2 separate regions of the Homo sapiens genome follow, and region 1 is linked to region 2. Evidence: promoter capture Hi-C in human tissues and cell types (Jung and others, 2019). All regions are on one chromosome and are shown on one strand. Each heading gives the region's core, a stretch centred on a gene start or on the middle of the fragment in contact. The rest is flanking DNA. Distances are from core to core; before and after follow the strand shown.

Evidence for each region. The method cuts DNA at HindIII sites, captures the fragments that hold promoters and counts their contacts. A contact is called where the count stands out against the background at its distance.
Region 1: a contact is called between a fragment that was not itself captured here and the fragment with the promoter of TEX261 in region 2, in 3 of the 25 tissues and cell types used here (adrenal gland, psoas muscle and stomach).

What each region holds. Positions count from the first base shown.
Region 1 is chr2:71,028,179-71,034,266 of GRCh38, forward strand. It overlaps the pseudogene OR7E91P. Among named protein-coding and RNA genes, the nearest start is that of TEX261, 36 kb to the left of the region's middle. The HindIII fragment of the contact is 6,692 bases long and covers 1-4,792 here.
Region 2 is chr2:70,990,917-70,996,711 of GRCh38, forward strand. It overlaps TEX261 (testis expressed 261), which reads right to left and starts at 3,957. Exons shown (of 6, transcript NM_144582.3): 1 at 3,772-3,957; 2 at 2,780-2,859; 3 at 914-1,067. The coding sequence starts at 3,841. RefSeq lists silencers at 3,529-3,618, 3,649-4,178 and an enhancer at 4,719-4,768. The HindIII fragment of the contact is 31,120 bases long and covers 1-5,795 here.

The DNA.
Region 1 (6,088 bases), core at 197-2,696, 35 kb after region 2:
CTGGTCTGGAACTCCTGACCTCAGGTGATCCGTCGGCCTCGGCCACCCAAAGTGCTGGGATTACAGGTGTGAGCCATGGCGCTCGGCCAAGAGTTATATATTCAATTAATTTGGAAACACAGCTCCCATATTTGAGTGTGCATGTACTTTTATGAAGAAATGATGTCAGAAAACCTAAGGATGATAATAAATATGAAAAGTAACTGGCATGTTAAAAGGTCTTCAGATAAAGAACTCTAAGCTTCGATTTCATTTTTAGATAATGCGGTCCTAGCTCTTGTATCATCCTTTTCCATATTCTACATCAAAGGAATTTGTCGCACGGTGTCAGAATAAAACAGAGTGTATTTCACTGCTTCTTAATTTCTTTCAATTAGGCTGACATCTTTTTCTTAAAGACAGAAGAGCATCTTCATTGCGTTTTATTCTTTCTGAAAAGAGTAGGCCGTATTTTACTGAGATCACGGATTTGTTATATATTATGTTTTGGTCTTCTAACATTCTTCAGTGGATTTTCTCTAAAGTAGTACATACAGAAGGAGTTGAATAGAAAACAGTAAATCATCATGGAATAATTCTGGGATTTTTGGGTTTGTCACAACTGAGAAATATTGCTGACGGTGTATGGTCCTCAAGTGTGAAAATGTTCCTTGTGAATTGCTTGCATCCAAAATATACACACAGCATTAAGGGCTGGTTTTTATCTTTTATTTTTCCAACCTTCTTTTCTTCCCAAGGTGTCCAAGTCACACAGAGCCACGGAATCTCACAGGAGCCTGAGAACTCCTCCTCCTGGGACTCTCAGAGGATCCAGAACTGCAGCCCATCCTCGCTGGGCTGTCCCTGTCCATGTATCTGGTCACGGTGCTGAGGAACCTCCTCATCAGCCTGGCTGTCAGCTCTGACTCCCACCTCCACACCCCAATGTGCTTCTTCCTCTCCAACCTGTGCTGGGCTGACATCGGTTTCACCTCGGCCACGGTTCCCAAGATGATTGTGGACATGCGGTCGCATAGCGGAGTCATCTCTTATGCGGACTGCCTGACACGGATGTCTTTCTTGGTCCTTTTTGCATGTGTAGAAGACATGCTCCTGACTGTGATGGCCTATGACTGTTTTGTAGCCATCTGTCGCCCTCTGCACTACCCAGTCATCGTGAATCCTCACCTCTGTGTCTTCTTAGTTTCGGTGTCCTTTTCCTTAGCCTGTTGGATTCCCAGCTGCGCAGTTGGATTGTGTTGCAATTCACCTTCTTCAAGAATGTGGAAATCTCTAATTTTGTCTGTGACCCATCTCAACCTCTCAAGCTTGCCTGTTCTGACAGCATCATCGATAGCATGTTCATATATTTCGATAGTACTATGTTTGGTTTTCTTCCCATTTCAGGGATCCTTTTGTCTTACTATAAAATTGTCCCCTCCATTCTAAGGATTTCATCGTCAGATGGGTAGTATAAAGCCTTCTCCGCCTGTGGCTCTCACCTGCCAGTTGTTTGCTTATTTTATGGAACAGGCATTGGCGTGTACCTGACTTCAGCTGTGGCACCACCCCTCAGGAATGGTGTGGTGGCGTCAGTGACGTATGCTGTGGTCACCCCCATGCTGAACCCTTTCATCTACAGCCTGAGAAACAGGGACATTCAAAGCGCCCTGTGGAGGCTGCGCAGCAGAACAGTCAAATCTCATGATCTGTTCCATCCTTTTTCTTGTGTGGGTAAGAAAGGGCAAGCACATTAAATCCCTACATCTGCAAATCCTGCCCCTTAGTCACATTATTTTTGTGGCTTGATGGCTTTTATTTCTTTCCGCGTTTCCTATGTGAATATTGTTTTCTTCGTTATGCCTTTAACTGGAAGGGGTGAGGATTCTGGGATCCTTTGTTTAGCAGAAACCTCATGACTGAATCCTCTATACCTAGGTGGCCTCCTTTAGTTTCTGAGCAATAACCCTGTCATCCAGGTGGAATCACAACCTTCTTTTTATATACGTGAAGTCCTCACTTCATTTTGGAATTCCCTGAAAATTGACTTTATGGAAGCAATGTACAGCAGGTCCTCCAACACCATTGGTGCATTCAAAGTTGTGTAGTTATAATGTTGGTGAGGAATAACTGGTTTCACTCTACCTAATTTTGCTTAAAGGTGAAGTTTCCAAGAGACTTCCAAAGATGTTAAGTGAGGACATACTGTATATCAAATTCATATCCTCTTCCAGAGTTCATGTGGAATTTCTTTATAAACTGCTTCTAGAGAATCTATTTGGGCAGGTTATGTGTAGAGATCCATGTCACTGGTCCTCAAGTTTGGCTTTGAGTCAAATCACCTGAGGAGCTTACAATTGATGAGGCCTGGGTCTCATTACCTGAGATTCTGATTTCCCTGCACCTGTGTGAGTATGTGGATTTTTTTTTTTTTTTTTTAAAGCACCAGAGGTGCTTGCAATGACAAAGTTTTTAGAGGCATCAAGCTCTAATGAGTAAGAACAGAAGTTAATTGTAATATGATTTCTTCAAATATTATCCTGAAATGCATTGTCCATCAACACCATACAAATGTTTATTATGCTGTTGTTTCTTACCATTTAGCATTTTCTATTTTTTTCTTTTTCTTTTCTTTTTTTTTTTCTTTTCCTTTTGAGGCAGAGTTTCACTCTTGTTGCCCAGGTTGGAGTGCAATGGCACGATCTCGGCTCACTGCCACCTCTGCCTCCCGTATTCAAGTGATTCTCCTGTCTCAGCCTTCCAAGTAGCTGGGATTACAGGCATGCGCTACCGTGCCCGGCTAAGTTTTTTTTTGTTTGTTTGTTTGTTTTGTTTTGTTTTGTTTTTTGGTATTTTTAGTACAGACAGTGGTTCTCCATATTGGTCAGGCTGGTCTTGAACTCCCAACCTCAGGTGATCCTCCCACTTCCGCCTCCCAATGTTCTGGGACTACAGGCGTGAGCAACCGCGCCCAGCCACCACTTAGCATTTTCATTTTACATTTGTTGAAATTATAGATTTATACACACTTTGATTGCTGCTTTGTTATACACTTGCATATACATAAGATGGGAAATAGAAAAGAATAAAACGGGCACAGTATCCCTGAAGTTTCACATTCCGAGACATGTTAAAAACATTTGGTTTTTAGAAATTTGTTTCAATTGAGAAACTGTGGTATACACACACAATGAAGTATTATTCAGCCTAAAAAGGAATAAACGAAATCCTCTCCACTGCAGACAAAATGGATGAGATTGCAGGTCTGTATGTTAAGTGAAATAAGCTAGGCACAGAATGACAAATATTTCATATCATCACTTCTAGGTAGGAACAGAAAAGAAAATCTTGGCCAGGTGTGGTGGCTCAGGCCTGTAATCCCAGCACTGTGGGAGGCCGAGTCGCACGGATCACTTGAGGCCAGGAGTTCGAGACCCACCTGGCCAACATGGTGAAACCCCGTCTCTACTGAAAACACAAACAATTAGCTGGGCGTGGTGACGCGTGCCTGTAGTCTCAGCTACTCGGAGGGCTGAGGCCCAAGAAGCGCTTGAACTTGGGAGGTGGAGGTTGCAGTGAGCCCGGATTGTGCCTGTATACTCCAACCTGGGCAACAGAAAGAGACTCCATCACACACCTACACACAAAAGGAATCTCAGGAAGGTGGAAAGTATAAGGGTGGTTAGCAGACGCTAGGAAGAAAAGGGGTGGGATGGGAAATGAAGAGAAGTGGATAATTGGGTCCCCAAATACAGAAAGATGGAATAAGTGAGTTCTAATGTTTGATAGTACAGTATGAAAATTTTAGTTCACAAGAATTTCTTGCATATTTCCAGATGCTTTGGTAAGAAGTTTCCTAACTTTCTCATTATGCTGGTTTTCCAGCTATTCTCTTTCTGCTCTCGAAATCATGCTGGATTTTTTGTTTTTGGTTTTTTGTTTTGAGACAGAGTTTCACTCTTGTTGCCCAGGCTGGGGTGTAATGGTGCATTCTTGGCTCACCGCAACCTCTGCCTCCTGGGTTCAAGCGATTCTCCTGCCTCCATCTCCTGAGCAGCTGGGATTACAGGCATGCCCCAGCACACCCAGCTAATGTTGTATTTGTAGTAGAGACAGGGGTTTCTTCCTGTCTGTCAGGCTGGTCTTGAACTCCTGACCTCAGGTGATCCGCCCGCCTCGGCCTCCCAAAGTGCTTGGATTACAGGCGTGAGCAACCGCACCCGGCCCATGCTGCATCCTTCTCTGTTGTCTGTTGTTGTTTGTTTGTTTTTGAGCCCAGAAATAACTTCTCACCTATATGTTCAAATGATTTTTCACATGAGTGCTAAGAAAGTCCATTGGTGGAAAAGCAGCCTTTTCGAGAAATGGTGTTGGAGAAACTTGATTTCCACATGCAGAAGAATGAAGGTGGACTCTATGTCACACCAGGTGCAAAAATTAACACAAACTGGGTCAAAGACCTAACCCCAAGTGCTGAAAGTATAATATGCCTAAAAGAAAACATTGGTCACACTTTCATGACATCAGATTGGGCAATGCTTTCTGGGATATGACACCAAAAGCATAGGCAACAAAAGAAAATTAGATTCCTTGGATGACATCTAAATGACAGACACTTTTGTGCATCAGCAAACACTGTGAACTGAGTGAAAAGATAACCCATGGATTAGGAAAAATATTTGCAAATCATATCTCTGAAAAGAGGCTGATATGCATCATGTACAAAGAACAGCTAGAACTGAACAACAAGAAACCCAAAGCATCCCATTCACAATGGTCAGAAGACTCGAGTAGACGTGTCCCTAAAGAAGATATAGCGATGGCCAATAAGCATCTAAAATGATGTTCAAAATCACTAATCATAGGGAAGCGCAAATCAAACCAAGAATGTGATACCACACATTTGGATGGATATGATAAACAAACAAGCATTGGTGAAACTAGAGGGAAGTAGGAATGCTCGAATCTGATTGGAGGGAATGTAAAACCGTGATGGAACCGGGAAAATAGTATGGCGTGTACCGGAAAAAGTAGAAACAGGATTAGCGGATGTTCCCGCAGTTGCGCTTGTGGGTACCTGCCAAAAAGAATTAGAAGCCAGGAGTGGAAGAGAGATTTGTACACCCAAATTCTTGGCAGCATTATTCACAACAGCCAAAACGTGGAAGCAACCCAAGGGTTCGTGGACAGATGAATGAAAAAGCACACTGCAGTTCATTCATGCGATGGAAGACTATTCAGCCTTAAAAAGGCAGGCACTTCCGGCCGGTGCGGTGGCTCACGCCTGTAATCCCAGCATCTTGGAAGACCGAGGTGGGCGGATCACCTGAGGTCAGGAATTCAAGACCAGCCTGGCCATCTTGTAAAACCCTGTCTCTACTGAAAATGCAAAAAATTAGAAGAGCGTGGTGGCGTGTGCCTATAGTCCCAGCTACTCGGGAGGCGGAGGCACAAGAATCGCTTGAACCCGGGAGGTGGAGGTTACAGTGAGCCCAGATTGTGCCACTGCACTCCAGCCTGTGCGACAGAGTGAGACTCCATGTGAACACAAAACAAAACAAAACAAAACAAAAAAATCAAAACAAAACACTCAAACAACCAGACAGGCACTTCTGACACAGGGTGCAACACGGATGAACCTTGAAGACATTCTCGTCAGTGAAATAAATAAATCCCAAAAGGATAAACACGACCAGGCTCAGTGGCTCGCACCTGTAACCCCAGCACTTTGGGAGGCTGAGGCAGGCGGATCACTTAAGGTCAGGAGTTCGAGACCAGCCTGGCCAATACGGTGCAAGCTCGTCTCTATTAAAAATACAACAATTAGCTGGGCGTGGTGGCGCACGCCTGTCATCCCAGCTACTCGGGAGACTGAGACACAAGAATCGCTTGAACCCACGGTGTGGAGGTTGCAGTCACCTGAGACCATGCCACTGCACTCCAGCCTGGGTGACAGAGAAAGACTCTGTCTCCAAAACAAACGAACCAAAAAAATTGAACACGGTATGATTCCACTTATATCACACATCTAGAGTAGTTAAATTTATAGAGTTGCAAAATAGAATGGTGGCCCCCAGGGGTGGGCGAGAGAGAGAGGAATGGAGAGTTT
Region 2 (5,795 bases), core at 2,707-5,206:
AATCACACCCAAGGAAGAAACCAGTTTTGGCTTTAACAATATGCCCTTTGTGTGGATAATATTCACCCTCCAGGCTCTCTCATAGAAATAGAAAAGTCACTCTAAAAAACCCCTAACTCCATCTGATACCCTGACTGAAAGCTAGGGTAGCCAGCAATGATGAACAGGAGCAATGGCAATCTTGGCAACCAAAATACTTTCCGAAGCCTTTTCCAGGAATATCTGTAAATACCTATATGCACCTACTATATGCCCACTGAGTCTCCCAATAGTTCTTTCAGAAACATCCTCTCTGAATAGATGGAGAAGCTAAGGCCCAGAGAGGGCCAATGATTCCCCAGGGTCAGAAAGTGGTGGCAGGGCAACGCCAAGAAGACTGGGTCCTCCACATCCAGGCTCAAGCCCGAGGCAGCGGCAGCCAGTGAGAATGAGATGAGAAGCTGCAGCCCCCAGGAGGCATTCACACCAGGCCAGAGTCTGCAAGGTGCTCACAGCCCCATGAGGCTCCAGTCCTAACAATGACTTTGGGTCAGAGGACTGGACGGACAGCTGCCTGCCTACCGGAAGGGCTTTGGGCTTTTTCTGGCCAAGTGGTTTTTTTGAGGCTGGAACTGCTCAGTTGGGGGCCCTGCCTCAGCCAATCCACAACCTCTTCTTTCCCAAACTCTCCTTCAAACTTACCTCTCTGGGAAAGCCCTCCCTGTCTGAGTCCCCAGCCCCAACAAATTCTATTCACTAGAGCCAAGGTGGGCTCTAGAGTCCTCAGCAGTAAGAACCGCATCTTCCCAACTAGCCTGGCTTCCTGGAGGACTTCAACAGCTGGCTTCCTTTTTCTGTATCCCCTTTAGTGCCCAGGATGGAGATGGGCACACCCAACCACATCAGCTGCCTCCCCAACTCTGTCCCCTCTCACCACACGACAGGATGAAGTTAGGCGAGGTCAGCATGATGAAGGGGAAGGTCTGGAGGAGGCCAAAGTAGACGAGGTTGGTGAATAGGCCCACTCCAATCATGCTGGTGGGGAAGCGCTCAAAGACGTAGAGGCCAATCAGTACAGCGGTGGAGAACTGAAACAACCAGAGGCAGACAGTGCAGGGCGCTTCTTCCAGGCAACGTTCCTGGACTCACCAACCCCCAGCCCGCTCTGGGCAGCACTAGGTTCATGCTTCAATCTCCTCATTTCACAGGTCTGGCCTCCCCAGCTAGGTTCTCTGCTCCCAAAAGGCAACATTTTTTTTTTTTTTTTTGAGACGGAGTCTCACTCTGTCATCCAGGCTGGAGTGCAGTGGCGCGATCTCCTGGATTCAAGCAATTCTCTTGCCTCAGCCTCCTGAGTAGTTGGGACTACAGGCATGCACAACCACGCCCAGCTAATTTTTGTGTCTTTAGTAGAGACAGGGTTTTGCCATGTTGGCCAGGCTGGTCTCAAACTTCTGATGGCCTCCCAAAGTGCTGGGATTACAGGTGTGAGCCACCGCACCCAGCCCATTTCTCAAACTTTTTGACAGCAACCCACAGTAAGAAAAACATCTGCCAGGCGAGGTGGCTCACGCCTGGAATCCCAACACTTTGGGAGGCCAAGGCAGGCAGATCACCTGAGGTTGGGAGTTTGTGACCAGCCTGACCAACATGGAGAAACCCCATCTCTACTAAAAATACAAAATTAGCCAGGCATGGTGGCACATGCCTATAATCCCAGCTACTCGGGAGGCTGAGGCAGGAGAATCGCTTGAACCCAGGAGGCAGAGGTTGCGGTGAGCTGAGATTGTGCCACTGCACTCCAGCCTGGGTAATAAGAGCGAAACTCCATCTCAAAAAAAAAAAAAGAAAAAGAAAAACATTTTACACTGTGACCCCAACACATATATACATATATATGATTCAAAGCTCAAATTTCAATTCTATTTATGTTCCTTTTTTTAAAAAATGCTGATTGTGACCTACTATACAGCCAAATAATGAATCATGCCTACAGTTTGAAAAACACTACTGATAAGTACCTACAGTTGTCAGTGCTTAGCAAATGACAGTTGGCTGAATGAAGGGCTAATTACTGTGCCAACACCCACAAGCTGGGCCTCTGGACCAGAGCTGAGGGCTATAGTCTTGCCTCCACTGTGAACTCCCAACCTCAGCCATGCCCAGAGTGCACATGGCTGCTGACACCAGGCGACTTGAGGGGCTGTGGACGCTTTCTCTCCAATGGCACCCCTACCCCCAGCCTTTCCTGCAGCTGAAGGAAGTCTGTCCACCAGCAGTCACCCCTATGGCTTTGATATCAGTGGCAAGGACTGTGTCTTCAGTAAGAGAAGCCTCCCATGAGACCAGGGAAGGGCGAGGGCAGCGAAGCTGTGCCGATCTTAGGACAAATCACTTGATCCGATTAGAAAGATGGCAATGAACATATATGCAAAACTGTCTTATGGCTCCTCTAAGTTTTAAATGCTGTGAGCAGAGCAAAGGGCTAAAGACAGCGGGAGAGAGCTAAGCAAAGTCAAATCTACGGTCTTGTCAACAGAGAAGTACACTTCGCTGTCACCTTAAGGACTAGAGCACAAGGCCTGCAGTGAAACAATGCCACTTGGGGAAGGCGGCCAGGGAAGATCTGGGCCCAGGAGTGCAGACCCAAAAGACAGCGTTCAGGGCAAGGAGGTAAGAGTGTATGCTCAGGAAACAGCAGAGACACAGGCCTCATCATCCATGCCAAACTCTCCCCACTTCCTGCTTTTGAGGCAGGGCAAAAGAGTGAGGAGGACTCCTGGAGAAAGATGCCACTTACCCAGATCATGTATTTTATGATCCTGCTGGTGGCCACTGTGTATTCTTCTATCAGTTCTGCCAGGTAATAGAGTCCAGCCGCTGCAGGGTGGGAGGCAGGGAGACTATCAGCCAGGGTCACTCCCACCATCCTGGTCACCCCTCTCTCTGCAGCCCAGTCCCCATCCACCCTTCATGGACCCCAGAAGGTCAAGAACAAACCAAACATCCCATGTGTTGCCCTTCCAAGTCTGGAGAAGTAAAACTTTCTTAGGGCAACTAAGGACAAATCTCATAAAAATCAACGAAAGTCTGCATTTGATGCCACAGTACAATGATAACCTCTGGCTCAGAAAACGGAATTTCACGTATTCAATAAACACCTGCTGGGCACTTGGCATGAGCCAGGTCCCTGGGCTGAGAATACAGCTGAAAAAGACAGACAAGGGTCCTTCCCTGACCCAGCTTGGGAAAGGGAAGGGGAACAGTAGGGAGAGACAGACGAGTTTAGTGTGAGAAATGCTACTTTAGGGAAAGGACAGGGCACTGCTGGACCATCAACCCCTGTGGACTTCCCGGAAAAGATGACATCTCAACTGAGGCCGAATGGGAACCAGCCAGAGGAGAAGTGTCAAAGGTGGAGAGAGCAGGGAGCATGAAGGGCCAGAGGCGCAAAGGCGGCGGTAGGCGTTGGGGAAAAGTTCCGCGCGGCAGGCCCGCGAAGAGTGGGAGCCGCAGCGGTTAGCGGTCCGCAGACGCGGGGGCGGCACTCGAGTCACCCTTTCTCGGGCAGTGCCGGAGCGGACTCTGTGACACCTGGAAGGAGCCACGGTCAGGCCGGGCTGCCAGGCTCGACAGGAGGGGCAGGATCAGGCGGGAAGGGGTTGGGGCGGCGAAGGCCGGGAGCGCCGGGCAGTGGTCCCCCGAGTGGCTCCGAAACCCCCGCGATGCGACCCCCAACGAGCACCGATGCCGGGGCGGGAGCCCGCGCGGGCCGGGGTCGTGCAGTCTCACCGACAGCCAGCGTGATGAAGGCCACCTGGATGAAGAGCGACAGCCAGCTCAGCAGGTACATGAACCACATGGCGCCCCCACCCGCCCGCTCCCCGGCCACCGGGACGGGCCTGCGCGCTTCGGCTCCGGCGACACACAGCCGCCACCGCCGCCGCCGCCGCCGCGTCCCCGCCCCGCGGACGACAGGACGACGGTGCGCCGCCGCCGAGAGGAGCCCGGCCCTAGCGCTGCCCGGGGCCAGGCTCGCGCTAGCGCCGCCCGCCGGAGAGGAGGGCCAACCGCCGCTGCCCCGCCAGGATCCCCCGCTCCACTGAGGGGAATGAATGCAGACCGCTGCAGCCAGAGGGAGGCGGGACGGTGCCCAGGGGCGGAGACGACCAAGCGCCCATACTGGGGCTCGGAGTGCAGCCTCCAGTCCCTCCCTGTGCACTCCCGTACCAGCCTGGAGGTGGTCCAGGGCCGGACAGGGCCGCCCGACCGCGCCCCAGCAACCTCCCCAGAACCTGCCTCCCGGCAGGTTGCGGACAAGTCTGTCTCTTGCTATCGCAGGTGATAGGGACAAAATTATTGAATTCCTAATATGTGCCACGCTCTGTGATAAAGGCGAGGTGTGTTCTTGTCGGAAATTTGAGCAGATAATGTAAATCATTTTATAGACGGGGAAGCCGGGGCCAAAGGAAGTTGCCCTGGGTCATGCACCTAGGAAGCGGCACAATCAGGAGTTGGGGTGATTTTAATCGGTCATCCTCCGGCCTAATTCCCCTCTAGGCTGTTCTTTTGGGGTACATTCTGCACCTTTGTATCGCCTGCACCTCACCCCTTGCCGGGCACGCAGGGCGTCCGCTAGGCGCTGGATGCATTTACTACACCTCTGGGAGGGTTCCTGAGGGGCACCTGGAACCGGTTAGTCCTTGTCAACAAGTCTCCCATCTAGTGGCGGAGACAGGCATGCAAAATAAAGTATGTAGAACAAGAGTCTAGTAGGCTTATTTCAGAATCATATTTTTCCTGCATAAAAATACGTATTCCTAAAAAAAACAATTACCGTATGATTTAGCAATTCTACTTCTGGGTATATACCCAAAAGAACTGAGAAAGCAGAGACATTTGTATACCAATATTCATAGCATTATTCACAATGGTCAGAAGAGGGAAGCAACCCAAATGTCCATCGGTTGACGAAAAGATAGACATAAAGTGCTATAAACATACAATGGAATATTATCTAGCCTTAAAATGAAGTGAAATTCTGACACATGCTACAACATCAATGAACCTTGAAGGCATGATGCTAAGTGAAATAAGCCAAATAGGGAAGGACACACATTGTATGATTCCCCTCATATGAGGTACCCAGAGTAGTCAAAATCATGGGCAGAAAGTTAAATGGTGCTTGCCAGGGTCTGGGGGACAAAGAATGGGGAGTTACTTTTTAATGGATACAGGGTTTCAGTTTGGGAAGATGGATGGTGCTGATGGCATCACAACAGTGTGAATGTGCTTAATGTCACTGAATTGTATACAGTGTTACAGAATTGTAAAATGGTTAAAACGGTCAATTTTATGTTATGCATAGCTTCCCCCTCCCCCCAACAAAATACATAAGATTACAAAGCCCATCCTGGCTAACACGGTGAAACCCAGTCTCTACTAAAAATACAAAAAATTAGCCGGGCTTGGTGGCGGGCGCCTGTAGTCCCAGCTACTCAAGAAACTGAGGCAGGAGAAGAGCGTGAACCCGGGAGGCAGAAGTTGCAGTGAGCCGAGATTGCGCCACTGCACTCCAGCCTGGGCGACAGAGCGAGACTCCGTCTCAAGAAAAAAAAAAAAAAAAAGATTACAAAGCAGGCTGGGCACAGTGGCTCATGCCTGTAATCCCAGTACTTTGGGAGGCTGAGGTAGGAGGATCACTTGAGGCCAGGAGTTCAAGACCAGCCTGGGCAAAGAAAAATTTTAAAATGGCCAGGCATGGTGGTGCGTACCTGTAGTCGCAGTTACTCTGGGCTGAGGCAGGAGGATTACTT